Linked DNA regions of Homo sapiens: regions 2, 3, 4, 5 and 6 are each linked to region 1. Evidence: promoter capture Hi-C in 16 types of primary human blood cells and fetal thymus (Javierre and others, 2016). All regions are on one chromosome and are shown on one strand. The core of a region is centred on a gene start or on the middle of the fragment in contact, and the rest is flanking DNA. Distances in the headings are between cores, read along the strand shown. Region 1 holds the start of LINC02991 (long intergenic non-protein coding RNA 2991). Region 2 has its middle 94 kb from the start of MIR4786. Region 3 overlaps NDUFA10 (NADH:ubiquinone oxidoreductase subunit A10). Region 4 has its middle 52 kb from the start of MIR4786. Region 5 overlaps HDAC4 (histone deacetylase 4). Region 6 overlaps NDUFA10 (NADH:ubiquinone oxidoreductase subunit A10).

Region 1 (3,616 bases), core at 145-2,644:
TGCCATGATTGAGAGGCCTCCCCAGCCATGTGGTAATGTGAGCCCATTAAACCTCTTTCCTTTATAAATTACCCAGTCTTGGGTATGTTTTCATTAGTAGTGTGAAAACAGACTAATATACATCCACCTAGGGTTTAAAAGGCCTGTACAGCAGAGCCTTCATCCTCTTTAACCAAATGCTAGCCTTAGACACACCTGCCTCTGAAAAGAGGCCTCTGCACTGCTGGGCTCCATCTGGCTGCAGGGGCCCTGACAGGGTGGCCACCGGAGCAAGGTCACCAGGATAGGCATACGTCAGGGCTTCCTTAAGGCCCAGCCTGGCCCCTCGTCCCTCTGCAGAGGGCGGCACATCTTTGGTCAGTGCCTGCTGCACACTTCCTGCTTCCCTGGAATACCCCTCGCCTGTGGGCGAAGCCTTGATCAGCAAGGTTCAAGGTCAGGCATGGCATGGCCTGAGCTCAAGGTCTCATGCCCGGGCCACAGGGGTCCAGGCCTCACCCAGGAGAACCATTGCAGACCTCAAGGTCAAACGTGCTGTTTGGAATCTAAGCCGAAAGGCCCAAAGCCACACGTCGCGCCCAGTGAAGCCCTCTCACTGTGTGTTCTGCCCTCCTCACCCCATCACCTCTTATTTCTCAAAGTTCCTCACTCCAGGAACTGAGGGCCTTTGAGAGTGCTTAATACTAAGAGCACCTCTTCCCCATGCAGGTTCAGAACAAGTTGGACATGAGATAAAGAATAAAACACATAGAACTCAAATTATTACTTACTCCTAACAAATGCCAAGGTGAAAGTCTTAGCTTTGTGTGGGGGCCAAATAACCTTCTTAATTGAACCCAGAGTAAGAGCCTCTGACTCAGGGGTGCAGGGCTGGACCAGGGCAGACATCCTAGCACCAGCACACACGGTGGGGCAGGAACCCTCAAGGGAACAGCGTCTCTGCAATCGGACGGCATCCAAGAGAAGCAGGTACGATGGTGGATTCAGTGAAGCAGACGCCCTCGCAATGTGGATGGGCCTCATCCAACCCATTGAAGACCTGAGTAGAACACAAAGGTGGAGAGAGAACCCTCCCTCTGCCTGCCTGCTGGAGCTGGAACACTGACCTTCTCTTGCTCTCAGGCTGGAAGTGTGCTGTCGTCGGCGTGCCTGGTTCTCGGGCCTCCAGGCTCTGGCTAGGGCTGCAGCACAGACTCTCCTGCCTTTCCAGCTTGCAGACGACAGGGTGTAGGACCCCTCAGCCTCTGTAATCATGCGAGCCCATTCCATTTCTTATAGCAATGCATCTCTAACTCCATTTCTCTGGAGAACCTTGACTAATACGGGAGAGAAGGAGGAGGGTCTGGGCCTTACAAGGCCCTGGCTCCCGTCAGCACACAGCCCAAGACAGTGACGGGATTTAGCTCAAGGCCAGGGGTACTTAGGGAAAATCCCGATTTCTGGAAATCTGAGAAATTAGAGATTTATCCCCATTTTCTACCCCCAACTGCATCATGAAATAAACATTTCGTTTCTACAAACGGGAACTCTGAATTCCAAGGCCGCATCCACCCGCCCCTTGGTGGGTTGCTCGTGTGTCTGGCTGGGCGGTGGCACAGGGGGATTTCGCAAGGCCTCAAAGCCCAGGCTCCCAGCTCCGCTCCTCCTACCCTTCATAGCCCGAGTGCCTGTGCTGGGATTTCAGGGCCTTTCTCCTACCTCTGAGATCCTTTGTCACTTTTCCAAGGAGATGGAAGTCTGGAATGAGGTGAGCCATGTCTCCATGGAGCACACTTTGTAGATGGAAACTTCTTTCTCCAGTGAAGACTCTGAGATGGACCAGGAGGAGAGCATCATGACCCTCAAGGAGAAATTGGCAGAATCTATCTGTGTAGGTCACAGCCTTGGTCCAGGGACCTGAGGGAGCCTAGTGGCCCCTGGAGGCATCACCTGGAGGTTTTCATGTAAGTTAATGTGACTGGATGGGGGTGTGGCCCCTGGTCACCACCCAGCACAAGTGACACAGCCAGCGCGGAGACATCAGCTGCCTCTCTCCACGTCCCTTCAGGCCCATGTCACAGCTGCACTGGGGAAACTGAGGCAGCTTAGCAGCCTCCATGATGCTGGTGGAGCTGGAGGAGGCCTGACTCTTCCAGAGAACGCCCTGCAGAGCCACAGGGCATGTGTAGCATCTGGGCGGCACCTGGCTCTCTCCCTGCTCCCCTGGGACTTCCAGCGAGCTCTCTTCCTGCCTTCGGAGCCATCTCAGTGCTCACAGCTCACAGTGACATTGGGAGGGGTCCCTATGCCTGTGAAGTGTTGGCGGGAGGAGAAAAACATCTGTGTTTAGCATAGCATAAAAAATCTCATTTTACAGTAGAAAAGTCTATCCCATGACGCAGACACAACAAACATATAAAACCCGCTTCCTGCTGCAGCTTCAAGGAGGACAATCTGGAGCTCTCTTAGGCGACCTTCCAGGAATCCCTTGCTCATCCTTAAAAATAAATCTTTCCTGTTGCTTCCCCAGTCTCTACACCCAAACACCAATCTTAGTGGCCCAACAAAGATCTTGAAGTATATCTACATAGGTATTAGCAAAACTTTATTTAAACAAGATATTCAGTGGATAATCAGGCATCCTCACTTTACATGCATGAGGACCAGCATGTACACAAAATGGTGCATTTCCAACCCCTGCAGGACCAAAGTCAAGTTATGGACAAGGGGTGGCATGATGTAAGGCAGGCGGCTGAGCTTTGGACTTGGAGGTCAGAGACCTAAGATTTGGAGTAGACACATGGGGTAGCGCTGGCTGCCTTTGAGAAATGACGCTCTGGCCATTCTTGAGTTTGTATTTTCCTTCACCAACTTTCCCGGAAGCACGGAGACACCGGGTTCACCCTTCCTGCTTGTGATCATGAGACACAAGGGGCAGGACAATTGTCTGATCCATTTGTATCGAGTGTGATTACCCCGTAGCAGAAGCCATCAGTGCTCTGCCCAGAGCCCCCAGGTCCCTGTGAGGGGTTCTGAGCCCCTTCCCCAACTTCCCTGTGCTTTTGCTGAGAATACCCCACACCACTGACCTTGGACCACCAGAGCTACTTTTCCCAGCTGAAGTCCCTGGGAGTTCATGTCCCTCCAGGGCAGCTCATGGCCACTGGCTGAGTGACCTGGGGAAACAGGGCAGAAGCTATTTTCAAAAATAACCACAGCAGTATTTTTTATTCCACCTGTTTTTTCAGTAACTTTCTGCACTCCCCACACCAAGGGGTGGAATCCAAGTCCCCTCCCTTTAAGCTTGGGGCAGCCATTGTGACTGCCTCAGTGTAGAACAGGCTGGAAATGACTGTGTGGTTAGGAAGGCTGGGGCATAAAAGGTCATGTGGCTTCCACTCACAGCTCTCCTGCAGGAGGCTCCGCATGGGAACCCGGCCGCCATGTTGGGAGGAAGCCCAGGCTGCACGGAGAGTGATGCAGATTCCCCAGTGAAGCTCCAGGGAAGGCCTTGGCCAGCAGCTGGGATCAAACCCCAGACCAGTGAGTGACTGAGTCTCCAGCCATCCTGGCCCCTAGCCTCCACGTCACCCCGACTGAGTGCAACAGAGGTGAGCTGCCCTCTCCAAGCCCTGCC
Region 2 (3,397 bases), core at 580-3,079, 270 kb before region 1:
TGACTCTCTCAGAGGCATATTATAATCAAACTCTTTAAAGACAAAGAGAGAATTCTAAAAGCAACAAGAGAAAAGCATCAAGTCACATATAAGGGAATCCTCTTTAGATTATTAAGAGATTTCTCAGCAGAAACCTTTCAGGGCAGGAGAGAATGAGATATTCATAGTGCTGAAAGAAAAAAAAAAAGCCTGTCAGACGAAATTACTATATCCAGCAAAGCTATCCTTTAGAAATGCAGGAGATGTAAAGACCTTAGACAAGCAAAAGCTGAGAGAATTTATTACCGCTAGACTGGTCTTACAAGAAATGCTTAAGACAGTGCTACAACTGGAAACAAAAGTGATAATTACCATTATGAAAAAATATGAAAGCATATAACTCACTGCTATAAATACATTCATAATCATACTCAGAATACCCCAGTGCTATAATGCGCTGGGTGCCATTATAAAGTTTTTTTTTAATTTTTTTTATTTCCATAGGTTTTTTTGGGAACAGATGGTGTTTACTTACATGAGTAAGTTCTTTAGTGGTGATTTGTGAGATTGTGGTGCACCTATCACCTGAGTGATACCATGAACCAAATTTGTAGTCATGTATCCCTCACCCCCTTCCCATCCTTTTCCCCTTAGTCCCTAAAGCCCACTGTATCATTCTTATGTCTTTGCATCCTCATGGTTTAGCTCCCACTTATGAGTGAGAACATATGATGCTTGGCTTTCTGTTCCTGATTCACTTCACTTAGAATAATAGTCTCCTGGGCTGGGTGTGGTGGCTTGTGCCTGTAATCCAAGCATTTTGGGAGGCCAAGGTGGATGGATCACCTAAGGTCAGGAGTTCGAGACCAACCTGGCCAATATGGTGAAACCCTGTCTCTACTGAAAATACAAAATTAGCCAGGTATGGTGGTGCATGCCTGTAATCCTCACTACTTGGGAGGCTGAGGCAGGAGAATTGCTTGAACCTAGGAGGTAAAGGTTGTAGTGAGTCAAGATCGTACCATTACACTCCAGCCTGGGCAACAAGAGTGAAACTCTGTCTCAAAAAAAAGAATAATAGTCTCCAGTCCCATCAAGATTGCTGCAAATGCCATTAATTCATTTCTTTCTATGGCTGAGTAGTATTCCATTGTGTATATGTACCACCACAGTTTCTTTATCCACTCATTGATTGATGGGCATTTGGGGTGGTTCCACATTTTTTGCAATTGCAAATTGTGCTGCTATAAACATGCATGTGCATGTATCTTTTTCTTATAATGACTTCTTTTCTTCTAGGTAGATAGTAGTGGAATGGCTGGATCAAATGGTAGGTCTACTTTTAGTTCTTTAGGGAATCTCAACATTGTTTTCCATAGTAGTTGTACTTGTTTACATTCCAACCAGCAGTGTAGAAGTGTTTTCTTTTCACTACATTCACACCAACATCTGTTATTTTTTTATTATGGGTGTTCTTGCAGAAGTAAGGTGGTATCACATTGTGGTTTTAATTTGCATTTTTCTGATCATTAGTGATGTTGAGCATTTTTTCATATGTTTGTTGGCCATTTGTATATATCCTTTTGGGAATTGTCTATTCATGCTCTTAGCCCATTTTTGATGTTTTCTTTTTTCTAATTTGTTTGAGTTCCTTGTAGATTCTGGTGCATTTAGGCCATTTACATTCAACATTAGTATTGAGATGTATTATTTCATTCATTGTGCTATTTGTTGCCTGTAAAGCTTAGGTTTTGTTTGTTTGTTTGTTTTCTGTATTTTATATGTCCTGTGAGAGTCATGCTTTAAAGAGGTTCTGTCTTCATGTGTTTCCAGGATTTGATTCAAGATTTAGAGCTCCTTTTAGCAGTTCTTGTAGTGCTAGCTTGTTAGGGGCGAATTCTCTTAGCATTTGTTTATCTGAAAAAGACCCTATCTTTCCTTCATCTATGAAGCTTTGTTTCTCTGGCTACAAAATTCTTGGCTGATAATTGTTTTGTTTAAGGAGGTTGAATATAAGGCCCCAATCCCTTCTAGCTTGTAGGATTTCTGCTGATAAATCTGCTGTTAATCTGATAGGTTTTCCTTTATAGGTTACCTGGTGTTTTTGCCTCCCAGCTCTTAAGATTCTTTCCTTCATCTTGACTATAGATAATCTGTTGACAATGTACCTAGGCAATGATCTTTTTGTGATGAATCTCCCAGGTGTTTTTTGAGCTTCTTGTATTTGGATGTCTTGGTCTCTAGCAAGACTGGGAAGTTTTCCTTGATTATTTCTCCAAATATGTTTTCCAAACTTTTAGATTTCTCTTTTTCCTCAGGAACACCAATTATTCTTGGGTTTGGTCATTTAACATAATCCTAAACTTCTTCAAGGCTTTGTTCATTTTTTAAATTCTTTTTTCTTTATCCTTGTTGGATTGGGTGAATTTTAAAACCTTGTATTTGAGCTCTGAAGTTCTTTCTTCTGCTTGTTCGATTCGATGGCTGAGACTTTGCAGAGAGTTTTGCATTTCTCTGTGTCCTTTATTTCCTGAAGTTGTGACTGTTTTTTATTTATGCTGTCTATTTCTCTGAATACTTCTCCCCTCATTTCTTGTATCATTTTTTTCCCCTTAAATTGGACTTCTCCTTTCTCTCATGTCTCCTCATTAGCTTAACAATCAACCTTCTCAATTCTTTTTCAGGTAAATCAGGGATTTCTTCTTGGTTTGGATCCATTGCTGGTGAGCTAGTGTGATTTTTTGGGGGGTGTTAAAGACCTTGTTTTGTCATATTACCAGAAGTGTTTTTCTGGTTCCTTCTCATTTGGATAGGCTATGTCACAGGGAGGATCTGGAGCTCCAGAAGGCTGCAGTTCAGATTCTCTTTTTTTTTTTTTTTTTGATGGAGCCTCGCTCTGTTGTCCAGGCTGGAGTGCAGTGGCATGATCTCAGCTCATTGCAAGCTCCACCTCCTGGGTCCATGCCATTCTCCTCCCTCGGCCTCCCAAGTAGCTGGGACTACAGGTACCCACCACTGCGCTCGGCTAATTTTTTGTATTTTTAGTAGAGACAGGGTTTCACTGTGTTAGCCAGGATGGTCTCGATCTCCTGACCTCATGATCCACCCTCCTTGGCCTCCCCAAGTGCTGGGATTACAGGCATGAGCCACCCCACCCGGCCAAGGCTGCTGTTCAGATTCTTTTGTCCCATGGGGTGTTTCCTTGATGTAGTGCTCTCCCCCTTTTTCCTAGGGATGTGGCTTCCTGAGAGACAAGCTGTAGTGATTGTTATCTCTCTTCTGGATCTAGCCACCCCGCAGGGCCACCAGGCTCCAAGCTGGTACCGGGGGTTGTCTGCACAGAGTCCTGTGATATGAACTATCTTTATATCTCTCAGCCATGGATACCTGAACCTGCTCCGGTAGAGGTGGCAGGGGA
Region 3 (3,516 bases), core at 1,017-3,516, 380 kb before region 1:
ATTCCTCAGCACCTGGCCCCACATTACTGTGGCTGTTGCTTCCATTGTCACATCTCCTTCTCTGATTTCTGAGGACCCTAGTGATGGCCTGGGGCCCACCCAGATAACCCAGATGATCTCCCAGTCTCCTGCTGCAGAGGCCCTTTTGCCAGGTGAGCTCATGTGTTCACAGGTTCTGGAGGCTGGGCATCTTGAGATAGAGATCTCCACCACTTCTTGATGCAGAGACCCCGCCTACCAGCCCCCTGCACATGCATGGGCGTGCAGGCATAGACATACGTGCCATTACCTGGCGTGTGAAAGGTGGCCCAGGTGTTGTGTCCCCTTCCTCAGCTGCTGACTGCTTCCCCGCTAGTGTGGTCTTTTCCCACCCCGCTCCTCCTGTCTTCGTGCAGAGCTAGTGGCCATCTGGTGACCGTGACGCGAGGCCCCGTATGTCACGCGTGGTCACACCCAGCTCCTCCGGTGGCCTGTGTGCCTCACTCCTCAGTCCCTCTGCAGCCTCAGGCCTCAGCCATGCAGTGCTGCTCTTTGGCCTCTTCTCTTGTCCAGCACCCTGGATGGTCGGCTCACATGGCGCTGCCTCCCTCAGTTACTGGGAGGTGGCTGCACAGCCCTGTCTTCTAAGCCACAGACGCAGGTTTCCAACTGCCCACGGGTCATCTCTATGGGGCAACCCGCCATGTAGCCCCCACACCCTGCACATATTCTATAAGCAGACCGGACACTTACCTTCCCTGGGGCTGACCAGCTCTTTCTCTCTCTCACCCAGGCCTTCCTGACCCCGTCAGGCCCTTTGAGGCCAGCCCCAGGTGCCCGTCACTGCTCCCCGGTCTAGAAATAGCACCTACAGCCCGTCTGACACAGGTCACAACTTAGGCCAAAGGTCTTGTCAGACTGTGAAGCCAGAAAGTCACGTCCCTCTCTTGCGGTCTTCCTGCCACTTGTAGACACCTGTAGTTCGAGCAGCAGTGTTGGGGGATCCCCCTGGCCCTGGAGGGTCCCTCACTCTCCTGACGCCTCCCTGGACTCTGCCAGACTAGCTGCCTGCGCCCCCTCCTGGGATCCCACAATACCAAACCCCCTGGGCTGTCTTGGCATCACTGGCTGAATGACCTGGGCTTTCATCTCAGTCTCTCTTCAGATTTCAAACTCCTGAAGGAGCTGGGTTTTTCTTTTTTTGTGTGTGTCCCAGAATTCTCCTGGCACCCAAACAAAACCGTCTGTATCCACACTGTATCCTGGGCCAGAAAGCTGGAGGCTGGCTGTGCCACCCTCCCCCCCGCCTTTAGATGGGCATTGATGTAGTTAGGATGTCTGTCCCTCCAGATCTCATGTAGAAATCTGATCCCCTGTTGGAGGTGGGGTCTGGTGGGTGGTGTTTAGGTCATGGGAGTAGATCCTTCATGAATGGCTTGGTGCCCTCCTGGAGGTAATTAGTATGTTCTCACAGAGTGCGCGTCGACCTCTCATTTTAAAGTATATGGCAGCTCCCACCCCCTACCCGCCTCATGCTCTTGCTCTTGCTCCTACTCCCACTATGTGGCGTACCTGCCCCTGCTTTGCTTTCCACTATGATTGGAAGCTTCCTGAGGCCTTCCCAGAAGCAGATGCTGGCACCATGCTTCCCACACAGCCTGCAGAACCATGAGCCAATTAGACCTCTTTTCTCTCTGCATTTCTCAGCCCCGGGTATGTCTTTATAGCAGTGCAAGAATGAACTAACAGAGCACCGGCCCCTCCACTTCCAGGTCCCACTTCACAGCTGTGCACCTAGGAGAGGAGAGGCTTTCTGGGGAGGAGGAAGGGTGGCTCCTGGGCCTTGAAGATCCTAGAGCTTTGCCTGTCCTGTGTGTGAGATGGCTGGTCTTGGGGCGACCTGTCTGCTGCTTCATAGGATGCATTGTGTGTTCGTCTGTCACTGCGTGGCCACTGTGGCAGAGGCCAGGCAAGGCACATTTCAGTGATTTGTGATCCAGGCAGCCATGGCTGTGTGGATGGCTGTGAATGCCTGCTGCTGATTAGGATAAAGGAAAAGCTGATTCTTTTAAAAATGGTTTTAGTACCTGTTCTTAAGGGCAGAATTTGGAAGGGGTGTGTGTGTGTGTGTGTGTGTGTGTGTGTACACAAATTGACTGTGTGCCCATGCTGATTTGAAAATATGAAAAAACTCATCATTTTCCCACCTGCCATCGCTGGGCGACACACACCGTGCTGAGCGCTTTCTCCTGGCTCCGCAACGAGGTGGTCCTGCGGAGCAACACTCCTCTTTCCGTCTCAGCCAGCCCTGTGCTGGCCGCCTACCCTCATGAACAGGCGTCTTTGTGCTGGCAGGGGCTCTTGTTGCCCCCCAGATCTCCCTGTGCCCTGTGAGGTTGGCCTCTGTGGACCGCCACCTGAGCCCCTGATCTCTCCCAGATGGTGGGAGAAGTGGGGCCTGTAACATCCTTTCTGCAGCTCCATCACTGCCAAGCTCAGCCCCCCACTGGCCTCTCTGGCAGCATCCGCTCCTCCTGGGCTCTGTCGTCCTGTCGCTCCTGGATGTTCAGTGGCTCCCGCTAGGGTCAGTCCTGCAGTGCTTCCCCCTCCTTTGCTGGTTTTCCTGAACCCTGCCCATGTCTACTTAAAAGGCCTGGATGAAACTCACTTTCCTACTCCGCCAAGGGCCCCTTACAGCCAGCGGCCCGGCCTCTGCAGGCCCTCTTCAGAGGGAATTTCACGCGGGGCTTTTTCAGAGAGAACTCGGTGTTTCAGTTGGTGAACTGTGGTTCCTGGGTCCCAGCCCCACCCCTGTGTCTGCGTGGCTGTCCCTGCTCAGGGCCTCCCCTAAGTGCCACCCATTGCTCTCTGTCCCCCTCCTGTGGCTCTTGTCACCCTCCTGACATTAATGAGAACACTCAGTAGTTCGTTTCCATTTGTGGCTCCCAGCCCTAGGACAGAAGCTTCTGGCAGGCAGGGCTGGGTTGTGGTTTGTGTACCTGTGGCATCCTTGCACTCACAGGAGACACCTGCCACAGATCATGTGCTCACCAGCATTGCTGAAGGAACTCATGAAGTACAGGCATCTGCCGGGTAGACATTGAACTATGAGCTGGGGAAACATTCATTCACGTTAAACAGAATGCACCAATGCCTTTTTCCCCCACAGCTGCCGGGCCGCAAGTACAGCCCTGGGTACAACACCGAGGTGGGAGACAAGTGGATCTGGCTGAAGTGAACGGGCCGCCTTCTGCTCCAGCTGCATCACAGTGATGGCCAAGCTGCATCAGCCGCACTCTCCTGGACGCCATATAGCTTTAAGATCGGGGGAGGGTAAATAATGCAAAAATTGCACAGTGGAAGAAGGGGTCTCACAAAAAGCAATCCATCCTGTAGTATAGGTAATGGAGTTGGGGGAAGCAGCTTCCATTCTGGATGTTTGGAACCCTTTAGCTTTGTTTTGGAATGGCCCACCATTCTCACTGGAAAACAGTGGTCTGCTGTGAAAGGCCAGCTCTCGGCAGCCCCTGTGGTTTC
Region 4 (3,418 bases), core at 570-3,069, 310 kb before region 1:
TCTGTTAAATGATTCCAGATCATTCGGTTATGTGCAACCAAAAGTCCTCACCCATACGTCATCTTACAGCATTAAAGCTTCAGGCGACTTGGGTATGTTTTAAAAACAAAAACATAAGAATTGTTTTCTTCCTTCTAGCTACCAACTTACTCACAAACCCAGCACTCTATAAAATGTTGATTTCAGGTACTGTTAGAGAAAGGTGGTCGTTAGCAGAACTTAGCAGGGATGACTCAGGCCATGCACCCTGGGCACTGGGGAAGCATCATCCTGTGAAGGAATCCAGACATTCGAAGAATTTACAGAGAGAAAAATCGATGACGGGACTACAGCCATGCTGTCACGTATCTGAGCCACAGCAATTTTAGCAGAATTTCTAGAGACCATCTAGAAATTCTCCCTGCTTATCCTTTCACTCACCTGACCATCTGACATCCATCCTGGGCCACTAGGTCCTGCTGGTGTCTGAACCGGTCCAGCCTTGTTCGGAAGGCATTGATGCTTAGTGCTGGAGCACACAGGAAGGACTGTGAATGAGAAAACTATAGTCATGCATCACTTAATGACAAGAATATGTTCTGCAAAATGCATTGTTAGGCAATTTCATAATTATACAAACATCATAGAGTGTGCCTGCAGCTCCCCTAGGTGGTATAGCCTATTACACACCAAGGCTGCATGCTGGATGGAGCCTATTGCTCCTAAGCTGCAGACCTGTACAGCATGTGACTGTGCTGAATACTGCAGGCAACTGTGACACAATGCTAAGTATTTGTGTATCTAAACATATCTCAACATAGAAAAGGTGTAGTAAAAATGTAATATGACAATCTTATATGGAACTGCCACCGTATATGTGGTTCTCGTTGCCTAAAATGTCATCCTGCAGCACAGGACTGTACTTCTGTGGGTCAGCTTTACTCTGAAATGTCTGTGTCTTAACCTGTAATATTCAACCTGGACAGTGAAGAACTTAGTACAAGATATGGTGCATGTAGTTTTGTCCTGGCCAAACTTTGTTTTTCAGGTACACAGAGGCCATTGAGAATGTTGAATAATAACTGAAGTTATGCTTCCTGCGGAGATGGTACTAAGAAATGCTGTATTCCAACACTAATATTTGTGTATCATTGCAAGGGGGTCCTGGACCCTAAGCCAAGGACCCTGTTTTGATCAGTTTCTTCATGTGAGGGCTGACTGTGGGGCCACACATTGTGATGGATCAGGAATATCTTTTTTTTTTTTTTCTTTTGAGACAGTTTCACTCATTCAGGCTGGAGTGCAATGGCGGGATCTCGACTCACGGCAACCTCCGCCTCCCGGGTTCAAGCAATTCTCCTGCCTCAGTCTCCCCAGTAGCTGGGATTACAGGCACCCACCACCACGCCTGGTTAATTTTTGTATTTTTAGTAGAGATGGGATTTCACCACGTTGGCCAGGCCGATCTCAAACTCCTGACCTCAGGTGATCCACCTGCCTTGGCCTCTCAAAGTGCTGGGATTACAGGCATGAGCCACCATGCCTGGCCAGGAACTCTACTAAAAATACAAAAAATTAGCCAGGCGTGGTGGCAGGTGCCTGTGGTCCCAGCTACTCAGGAGGCTGAGGCAGGAGAATGGCATGAACGCGGGAGGTGGAGCTTGCAGTGAGCCGAGATCGCACCGCTGCACTCCAGCCTGGGTGACAGAACTAGACTCCGTCTCAAAAAAAAAAAAAAATTGTGTATTTATCTTATAAGCAACAATCAAACATGTGTTACTGCTTTTTTAAAATGTTAAATGAGAACTCAGCAAAACTTCTCCACTCTGAGGTGTTCCAGATCAACTCTGGAGTCTAAAAGCTCTGACCTAGAGAGACACCTTGAGTCAACAGAGACCGTAGGCGTCGCAGTGGGCTACAGAGGAGGCCAGGTGTCCTAAACAAACACATTTGCCAAGCCACCTGTTTGCTTGTGAGCACCAGGAGCAAGAGAGGAGCAGGGATACCCCAAAGTTCTGCTATGGCTTCATCCCTCTGCTTTATTTAAATGCAGTGGGGTTCGGCATGGCTGTTAAACACTAGGTGGTTTTAGAAGTAATGCAACATCCGCTTGTTCCTCCAAATCAGAGCTGTGATCCTGCTCGCCCACTGACTGTATTTCAGCTGCCCGGGTGTCAGCTTATCATCTTTTTCCGCAGCCTTGTCATCATTCTCAGTGAATTCCAACATCTCCTTTTTACCATGATTCACTGAAATCACAAGGCGCATGCTAGTTCTCAGTGTCAAATCCTCCATCTTCCACAGAAGTGCCCCTTTCTTCCATTCTTCTTATGCAAATGTAACATTCTCTTCCAGTTCATTTTTCTAACAGTAACGTTTGTTTAATTCACAAATTAATTCTTGTAGACATGGCTGTTGAATGACCCCGATTGGAAGTGACTTGTCTTGCTTTATGTCCTAAGACCATCTTTTTGGCCTCTATCCATCTGAAGGCAGCTGCATCAGGCCTTTCCTTTCGTATTCCGAATGGGAAGCTGCGGCCCCACTCTCTCCAGGCTGTCTGCGCCGCCCGCTCCCTGTTGGCTAGCACATTGGAGAGGGCAGCCAGGCCCAGGGCAGCTGTGACTGCAGCCGTCTTGCCCTCCCATCTGCTTCAGCAGAGCCCGTGCTGGCTTGGAACACAGGACGGACAGCTTCTCCTGGACCCTGGTTCCTGCCCCTGACCTTGGGATGTCACCATCAGCAAATCCCCAAAGGCTCAGATTGACAACTCCTATTAGGATTCCATCTGCTCATGCTTTAATGTTTTTGACCTGGGAGAGATGAAGGCTTGTTTTTCCTGTGTCCACTGTGGGGACATCAGTGGGGAGCTGGCCCCAGCCCAAGCCTGTGTTCTCCATTGCTATTATTTGCAAGTTAATATAATGATTTGAGCCAAAATAAACTCAAGACAAGCTGCAGAAATTCTGCAAGTTATCTAAGCAAGTGTGTGAGGTGCATCTGATCAAGCCCTTACTGAGAAGGGTGGGTGCCCAAATCCTGCCATTTCCCACTCCTGCTTGGGGAAGGAGCCCTTATGGGTCACTGTGGGGATGGAGTGGGACCGGGGGATTTCTGCCAGAGGCTGCTAATGGTGCGAGGGGTAGGGGCTCTGATTTGTCCTGCCAGAGTCCACCGGAGAAAGCTATACTTTCAGTGTTTGAGGCGCAGGATTCTGACCCTAAGGAAGGTGAGACAAGGCAGGAGTCAGGGTTGGGATCCTTCCAGCAGGCGTTCAGGGCCAGGCAGACACGTCCAGTGTGAGGCCAGGTCAGACATTACTGAGATTCCAGCCATCCAGTGGGTGGGTGAATGGGCTGTCTTTTAAATGGGTGTCCTGTGAAGCCAGGATCATCCAGCCTTTGGGTGAGATGGAGCTGGGCATGTTTTGATCTTTGCT
Region 5 (3,601 bases), core at 88-2,587, 260 kb after region 1:
GGAATGGGAGTGCCGGGTCACGGGTAAGCTACTTTTAACTCTGCGTGACCTCCAGCACGGCCACACCGTCTTAGACCTAGTGCCAGTGTCTTCAGGCTGACCAGGGCGCCTTGCTCGGTCCCGGGAGGTGGCCCTCGCCTGGCCTGTGCCTGACCGCCAGCCTGCTGTGGCTGTCAGTGTCTTCTGACATGGGTCACCCATTTTTATGTTTGTTGTTGGTTTCGTTTTCTTAATCATTTGCAGAATTGAAATATCTGGGTGTGTGTGGCTTCCTTCCAGCAGCTAACGGGAGGCTGCGGCCGTGTGCTGCCTTCATTGTCACAGCTTCCTATGGCCACTGCTCCTTAAAGTTTCCTATATGTGGATATTACTTGCTTGCTGTTTCTTGTTGAATATCAGATATTCTGGTTTTTTGCTCTTACTTTTCTTCTGGAAGTAATATCCTTTGGAAGTAATATCCTTTAGAAATTCCTGCAGAAGTTCCGTTTTTTGTTCGTCTGAGAGTTGCCTCCTTTTCCTTCATTGTTGAATGATCCCTCACAGAAGACAGTGCTGGGGAGGCAGCTGCTCTTCCCCAGGGCTCTGAGGATGTGATTGGTTCACTCAGTTCCACTGGGGCTGTTCCGTTCCTTGGCAGGAATCCGTTGTGTCTCTCTAGGTGTTTTGTAGTCTTAGTGTTCTACATTTTTGTAAGCGTTTTCACTTACCCCTGTTGATATTTTTTTGGACTTCCTGAATCTGAAGATTAGTGTCTTCCAATAATAATGGGGAATTTTATTCCTTAACTTTTTTCTTTTTAACTTTTAATTTTGCTGTAATTTCAAACTTACAGAAAATCAGCAAAAAATAGTCCAAAGAATTACTGTTTATTGATATGCATCCTTTTTTTTTTTTTCAGAATCGTTTGAAAGTTAGTGTTAGATGTGATGCCTTCCCCCAACTAATAATCCAGGCCATGTTGCCTCAGATAAGCGTGGTCACTCTTCAACTACGGTCAGTGAGTAGAGTTGGAAAATAACAGCGAGCAGGCATTGTTCTCTCATCTGTAGGCCTTGTTTATGTTTCGCTGATAGTCTAGTGATGTCTCGTTATCAACAGCAGATGACAGGCCCTGCAGGGCCTTCAATTCTCACGTCCTCCCCAGTCCCCTTTGCTCCGGGACAGTCTCCTCGTCATTTTTATGTTTCGTGACATTCACATTTTGGAAGCGTAGGGGCAGCTATTTTGTAAAATGTTTTTCAGCTTGGGATTTCGGCATGTTTCCTCGTGATTGGATTCCAGTGATGCCGCTGGGCTTGGCGGCCACCGCAGTATTTCGTTGCTGCTGATGCTGCCCGGAAGCTCTCAGTGAAGGTGATGCTGGCGGGTGTTTCCACTGTGAAGTTACATTGTTTCCTGCATAATTAGCAGGTATCTGGTAGGGAGATAATCTGGGACTGTGCAGACAGCCTGCTACTCCCCGAGCACTGACCCACAAGTCTCAGCATCATTGATGGTTCTTTGTCGGAGTCTGTTGTTGTCGTGGTGGTGGCTACTGGTCATCTAGTGTCACCGTTCTTGCTACATTCAGGACGGGAAGCCCTCATTAACCTCAGGAGGTTCTTGGAAACTGACTTTTAAGTGAAATGGTCATCTAGTGTCACCGTTCTTGCTACATTCAGGACGGGAAGCCCTCATTAACCTCAGGAGGTTCTTGGAAACTGACTTTTAAGTGAAATAATACAGAATAAAACCAAGGTTATTTTTCTCACCAGTGCACCAGTGTTATAGTCAAACGACTGGCATTGCTTGAGGACCCTCTGTCGTTGGCTTAAAGTTGCGGTTTCCAAGAACCTGTGGACAACGTGAAATGTGGACTCCTGTAGTTAACTTTCTCCTGTAAAGAGCTTTCCTTTCCTCCTTATTTATGTGTTTCCTTATTGTTTACTTATATTAGTTTGAACTCATAGATTCCTAATTTATTAACTGGGTTATAACCTTTTATTATCAATATCTATTCTGCTGCCCAAATTGTTCCAGTTTGGCCAATGAGAGCCCCTTCATGCTGGCGTTTCTGGCAGGTCCCTCCCGTTTTGGGACCCTTCTTTACTCTCTTGGATACACAAAATGTCCTAATCTCGCCTGTACTTACCCTGTCCTGGCCTGGAATCAGCTTTTTCTCAAGGCGGCCTGGTTCCTTTCTCGGGGAATGCTATTTAGAAACCAGCTCTCGGCCGCCAGAGCTGTGAATAGATGTGTGTAGATCGGCCCCTGCACCCACACACGCCGGCCCCACCCACACACATGGCAGTTCACTTCCAGCCCAGCCTCACAAAGGCCACCGGCTGGCCTTCTCCTTTCACATTTGTTACTCCCTCTGCTGACAAGGAGACGTGGAGCTCTCAGAATCCATCATGTACTTACTTATTTGTTCAGTCTCAATCCCAGAATACTCAGAGATTATTAACCTATGCCTCTGTGAAAAAGAAACCCCCAACTAGAGTCCAGCAGTCGCTGAAGGCGTATGGTCCAGATACCGGGTCTAAAAGCCACTTTGGCAAGCTCTTACGCACACCCCACCCTGCCCCAGCGTGGTTGTTACTCATCTGAAATGGGGTTTGGTTATTTGTTTCTGTTTGTATTTCAGTTTAGAATTTTTCCCCCTGTGTACTTTTTGATTGTATTAATTTTCACTTTTTGATGATGTGAAACCCAATTGCAGCTTCAAAAGCCAGAACTGTGTAGCAGCCAGACTCAGAGAAGCGGGTCCCCTACCCCTGCTGTCCCCTGTCCTTTCCACCCTGTCCCCATGAGCTACCCTTTCTTTCCTGGGTGGCCTTGTGTGCTTTCATTTGCCCACTTTCTTGCACGGAAAGAATGTCCTACAGGGAACTCCTCTTCCCTAGCAGTATGTCCTGGAAACCACGCCACGTCTGTCCACAGGCTCCTGCTCATTCCTGTGGACAGCCATACACTCTGCAATTCATCCAGCCGCTCTCTTACCTAGGGCCCATTGGTATACTGTACAGGGTAGTGGTAGAATCACAGCTCACTACAGCCTCCACCTCGTGGGCTCAAGCAGTTCTCCTGCCTCAGCCTCCCAAGTAGCTGGGACTACAGGCCCGTGCTACCATGCCTAGGTAATTTTTTTATCTTTAATTTTTTTGTAGAGATGGGGTCTTGCTGTGTTGCTCAGGCTGGTCTCAAACTCCTGGGCTCAAGTGATCTTCCCACCTTGGCCCCCCAGAGTGCTGGGATTTACAGGTGAGAGTCACCGGGCCTGCCATCTGAGTTTTATCTTCAGAGTTGGTTTATGGAGTGATTTCTATCAAAAGATAAGTAGATTATATCATTTTATTAGATTTTTCTCAAGATTTCCTATAGGAAACTTATATCAGTTTGCATTTCCGCCAGTAGTGTCTGAGCGAGCCTATTCCCACGGGGCTTTGGAGTGGAGTGTATTACTTACTTGCTGATTTGGTAGATGAAGGATATTTCAGTTTGTAAGGGCCGTTTTTCTGTCTTTGCTTTTGGCTTTTCTGTTAGGCTTTTGGTCTCTGTTCACACAGTTTGTAAGAGTTCTACTGATGGAAGAGATTTTGGCCTTTGTCTTTCATGTGTA
Region 6 (3,659 bases), core at 800-3,299, 400 kb before region 1:
AGGGTTTTTATTTCTAACAAAAGGCCCCACCCTGGTGAGAGTGGCTTCCTTTTATCTGGCCACCCGACAGACAGCTTGTGCTAGCAGCAATTTCCATCAGATGCTGAGCGGAAAAAACAACTGTTGCTCTAAAAACACGTTAAAAATCAAACCCTAACTATAAAACCCATTTTCTCCAACTCTTTTCCTTCTTTTGAAAACAAATACTAATGGTGTAATAGGAAGGCAAATGTTCATGAAAATGTAGTTTCTCTTGGATCATTTGTGTTTCAGGTTGCCTTCATCTCATTTCTGTCTAGTTCAGCTGGAGACAACAGGCATAGCTAGAAAAATGGAAAGTGTATAGGAAGAGATAGGGCCTGGAGACAGGAATGTGTGCAGGTGGAGGTATGTCTGATCTCATCAGAACAGATGGAGAACATGCCAGAGCCCAAGGAGCCATCAGTCTCTGACACCTCAACTCGCAGAGGCCACCAGGCAAAGACAGTTGAAGTTGTTTTTAGTTGGGTCACAGTTAGAGGTTCTGAGGTTTAGCAAGAATTATTGTGATGTTTGAATTGCTAACAAAATTAAATGCTGTTTTCTATAATTACACGTTAGAAGAAACAGTAAATACAATCAAGACAAGAATCTTTTTAGAAAAGAGTTCAGGTTTTGCTTTATGAAAATTGCAAAAGACAAGTAACTAAAGAAAAGTAAAGTCGGCCTTTGTCAGAGGCGAGGTGAACAGAATTGTTTCGTCTAACCTTGTAGCTGGGGATCCCCTACCCGCAGCGGGCTGTGCAGAGTACAAGAGAGGGTCCTGAAGTGCTTCTCACTGGTCTTTGGAGGTGGGAAGACCTTCTCATCGGTCTTCAGGTACACGTGTCAGGTCACTGGTTTGCTGCAGGGGAGCAAACAGCATTTGAGGACATTCCACAGAACGTGTGACTATTAGAGCAGAAGGTAGTTGGCAGCCGGTTATTTCCTGGAGCAAGTGGAGGCCATGGATGCCTTTTCATGGCAGTGGTTCTTAGAAGCCCATTACCCTGCTAGGCAATTTCTCGCTTTCTGGGAGACTTTTTTTTTTTTAATGTTGAAAATATGTGTTTTAGCCAAATTCTGCCATTAACATGAGAATTTCTATAATCCCAATTAATTTTCTAAAAATAATAAAATTACTAAAACTATGCCTTATAATTTCATGAGAAACTTAAAATATACTTGCACTGTGCTTCTGTAAATAGGTGGTCTGTGTATTGTAACATGCCCAGGACGTTGCATGCATGTTTTATGATGGGTATTGTCCTTGTTGATACCTGGAGGTTAGGAGTTATTAGGTAGCACTTCTGATTCTTGGAAAACGAGTAATGCTTTGACCTTTATTCTTTAGATTAAGGATTATAGTCTTCGTTTTTCTTCCAGGATTTTCCTGATTTTTCTGACTTTAGTGTTTTTGTAGTTTTGTGAGATGGGTCTAGATTTGAATTTTTCTTTATGCCAGTGCTATTTGCATCTTGTTGGTAGGATCTTATTCCTTGTTGGTAATTCCCCCATTGCTTCTCTCTGTAGACATTTTAAACCTAGTTATTTTATGCTCTGTCTCTGGAGCGCTGCTCTGGACGCTGTCTGATCTTGTTCGTTGTTTCTTCTTTTTCTCACCCATGGTGGCTTCTTTTCTTGACTGTGTTGGAGACTTTGGGTACAGAGCTTCTGCCCTGTGGGGCTCCATCCATGGGCATTTGGTGAGAGTGGGTCCCTCCTGAGTCAGGTTGCCAGATGAAGTACAGGATGCCAAGGTAAGCTTGAACTGAGAGCAGCTAGTATTTTAGTATAAGTATGTCCCAAGGTTTTTAACCGGGTATCCTATATGATTTCTCAGTCCTGGCAGCCCTACTCCTGAAAGGACCCTTTGCTGCTGCCAGGCCTCAGATTCCTGAGGAGCAGGGAGGGATTGATGGCACCTTTGTTGCTTGTGGTATTCCAGGCCCTGGAGGTAATGCAAATTTCAACCCTCGAACCTGTGTGGAGAGAAGCTCTGGTTACGAATTCCCAGTGGAGAATGGTTTCACCACTGGGTGCCAGCTGGGGTCTCCTTGCTGGCAGGAGGCCTTCTCCCCGCACTGAGGTGTGGCCCTTCAGGAGTCACCTCACAGGGACACCAGGCCGTGTCTTGTGGCTCTCTGCAGCTCTTGGGCGTCCCGAGGGCACCGCGGCTTCAGCTCACCACTCTGGCTTTTCCACTCACTCTTCCTTCTTAGCCCTTTGTGATTTCTTGCGGAGCTCAGCTGTACATGTAGAAGCATTTCCAGAGGTTTTTATATCAAGAAGCTTTTCTGCATATTAGGGCTGCTGTTTTGCTAGAAATGGAAGGCTCCCCTATTTTTCTTTATAACTGGAAACCCTGTTTTGGTGCTGGTTCTTTCTGTAGCCATTCTGTGGAGGACCTGTCTGAATTAGAAAGTCTACATTTTATATACTCAATAGGTATTTACCCAATGAACAGTCCCCCAGAATGCAGAATTGATTAAATCCCCAACCCCGAAGGCACAGAAGGGAAACCTGGCTGATCAAAGAATTCTTGCCTTTTAATTTAATCTGAGTTCTATCCCAGAGATAGAGTCAGGCATCTTGGGAGTGCTAAGGTAGTAGGAATGACAGTTTATCCCAATACCTGCTGCCAAGCCTGACATTTCAGACCCCCTGCCCGACAGTGTCATCCCAGTGTCCTACCACTTCTGCACTTAGCCCTGATTAGATCTTTATCGTGCCAGGCACTGTTGTAAGCATTGGGGCCACACCCGAGAGTGAAGCCAAGCCCTGCCCTCATGCAGCTCACCTCCTAGTGGGCAGGGAGAACAGATGATAGACAGGTAACAGGGTGCCAGGGTCTTGGAGAAAGCACAGCGAGGAGGCTGCCATGTGGAGAGAGGTCTCAGGCACCTGACGCAGGGGACTGAGGGATGTGGGGGTGTAGGGGAGCAGGCGCCACAGGGGAGTGAGGGATGTGGGGGTGTAGGGGAGCAGGCACCCCCCGGAAGGCAGGAACAGGTGGACATGGTCTGGAGCTAGAGAAGAGCCCGTCATGGTGAGGTGTGATGCGGGTGGGGTGAGCTTGAGCAGGGAGTGAGCTGAAAAGGCAGCAGGCCAAGGTCAGCCGGGGTCCGCAGCTGCCACGGGGACCTCAGTTCAGCGGTACTCCTGGTGAGGTGGTGGCGTTGGTGCGCCAGAGAGTGGCATCATCTGGGTCTCAGGTTTAAAGGGTTGCTCTGCTTGCCACGTCGAGTATCAACTGTGGGGGCAAAGGCAGAGGGCCAAGGCGGTCAGGGAGGGTCCTGGTGGTGCAGGTGAGAGTGCTGGTGCTATGGGCGGGGGCGCTGAGAGTAGGCACTGTCTCTTTTCCCGAGAGCCCCCACTTAACAGGGGCATTGTTGCCCCTCCTTGCCCAGCCAAGTTGCTTCTTGCTTTTTAGGTTTTCAAAATTAAGCAGACTATTGCTGAAGGATTCCAGCAGAGGGAGTCAGGGAAGAGGTGCAGGGTGGGGAGCGGGCTGCTGAGGGCCTGGTGGTGGCCTTTCCTCACCGGACGGTGGAGCCCTGGGCCTCTGCTGTGTTGCCTCTCCTGCAGAGTTGTGTGTGTGACTGGAGGAGAGGGGTGGAGCCAGTTCAGCCAGCACTGGG

What was found. The method cuts DNA at HindIII sites, captures the fragments that hold promoters and counts their contacts. A CHiCAGO score of 5 or more calls a contact.
Region 2: a fragment that was not itself captured here is called in contact with the fragment with the promoter of LINC02991 in region 1 in 3 of 17 cell types (M0 macrophages, M2 macrophages and fetal thymus); the score reaches 6.9 in M0 macrophages.
Region 3: a fragment that was not itself captured here is called in contact with the fragment with the promoter of LINC02991 in region 1 in 1 of 17 cell types (M0 macrophages); the score reaches 6.4 in M0 macrophages.
Region 4: a contact is called between a fragment that was not itself captured here and the fragment with the promoter of LINC02991 in region 1, in 4 of 17 cell types (M0 macrophages, M2 macrophages, M1 macrophages and 1 more). The highest score is 8.0, in M0 macrophages.
Region 5: a fragment that was not itself captured here is called in contact with the fragment with the promoter of LINC02991 in region 1 in 1 of 17 cell types (neutrophils); the score reaches 6.2 in neutrophils.
Region 6: a contact is called between a fragment that was not itself captured here and the fragment with the promoter of LINC02991 in region 1, in 2 of 17 cell types (M0 macrophages and neutrophils). The highest score is 7.9, in M0 macrophages.

What each region holds. Positions count from the first base shown.
Region 1 is chr2:239,576,079-239,579,694 of GRCh38, reverse strand. It overlaps LINC02991 (long intergenic non-protein coding RNA 2991), which reads right to left and starts at 1,394. Exons shown (of 2, transcript NR_172921.1): 1 at 771-1,394. The HindIII fragment of the contact is 7,503 bases long and covers 1-3,284 here.
Region 2 is chr2:239,847,374-239,850,770 of GRCh38, reverse strand. No RefSeq gene overlaps it. Among named protein-coding and RNA genes, the nearest start is that of MIR4786, 94 kb to the left of the region's middle. The HindIII fragment of the contact is 209 bases long and covers 1,725-1,933 here.
Region 3 is chr2:239,960,819-239,964,334 of GRCh38, reverse strand. NDUFA10 (NADH:ubiquinone oxidoreductase subunit A10) reads left to right here. Exons shown (of 10, transcript NM_004544.4): 10 at 3,149-3,516. The coding sequence ends at 3,217. Among named protein-coding and RNA genes, the nearest start is that of MIR4786, 19 kb to the right of the region's middle. The HindIII fragment of the contact is 1,357 bases long and covers 1,588-2,944 here.
Region 4 is chr2:239,889,136-239,892,553 of GRCh38, reverse strand. It overlaps a transcript of NDUFA10 not described here. Among named protein-coding and RNA genes, the nearest start is that of MIR4786, 52 kb to the left of the region's middle. The HindIII fragment of the contact is 3,479 bases long and covers 80-3,418 here.
Region 5 is chr2:239,315,981-239,319,581 of GRCh38, reverse strand. The region is part of intron 2 of HDAC4 (histone deacetylase 4); the gene reads left to right. Among named protein-coding and RNA genes, the nearest start is that of MIR4269, 12 kb to the right of the region's middle. The HindIII fragment of the contact is 5,835 bases long and covers 1-3,601 here.
Region 6 is chr2:239,979,314-239,982,972 of GRCh38, reverse strand. The region is part of intron 9 of NDUFA10 (NADH:ubiquinone oxidoreductase subunit A10); the gene reads left to right. Among named protein-coding and RNA genes, the nearest start is that of MIR4786, 38 kb to the right of the region's middle. The HindIII fragment of the contact is 527 bases long and covers 1,786-2,312 here.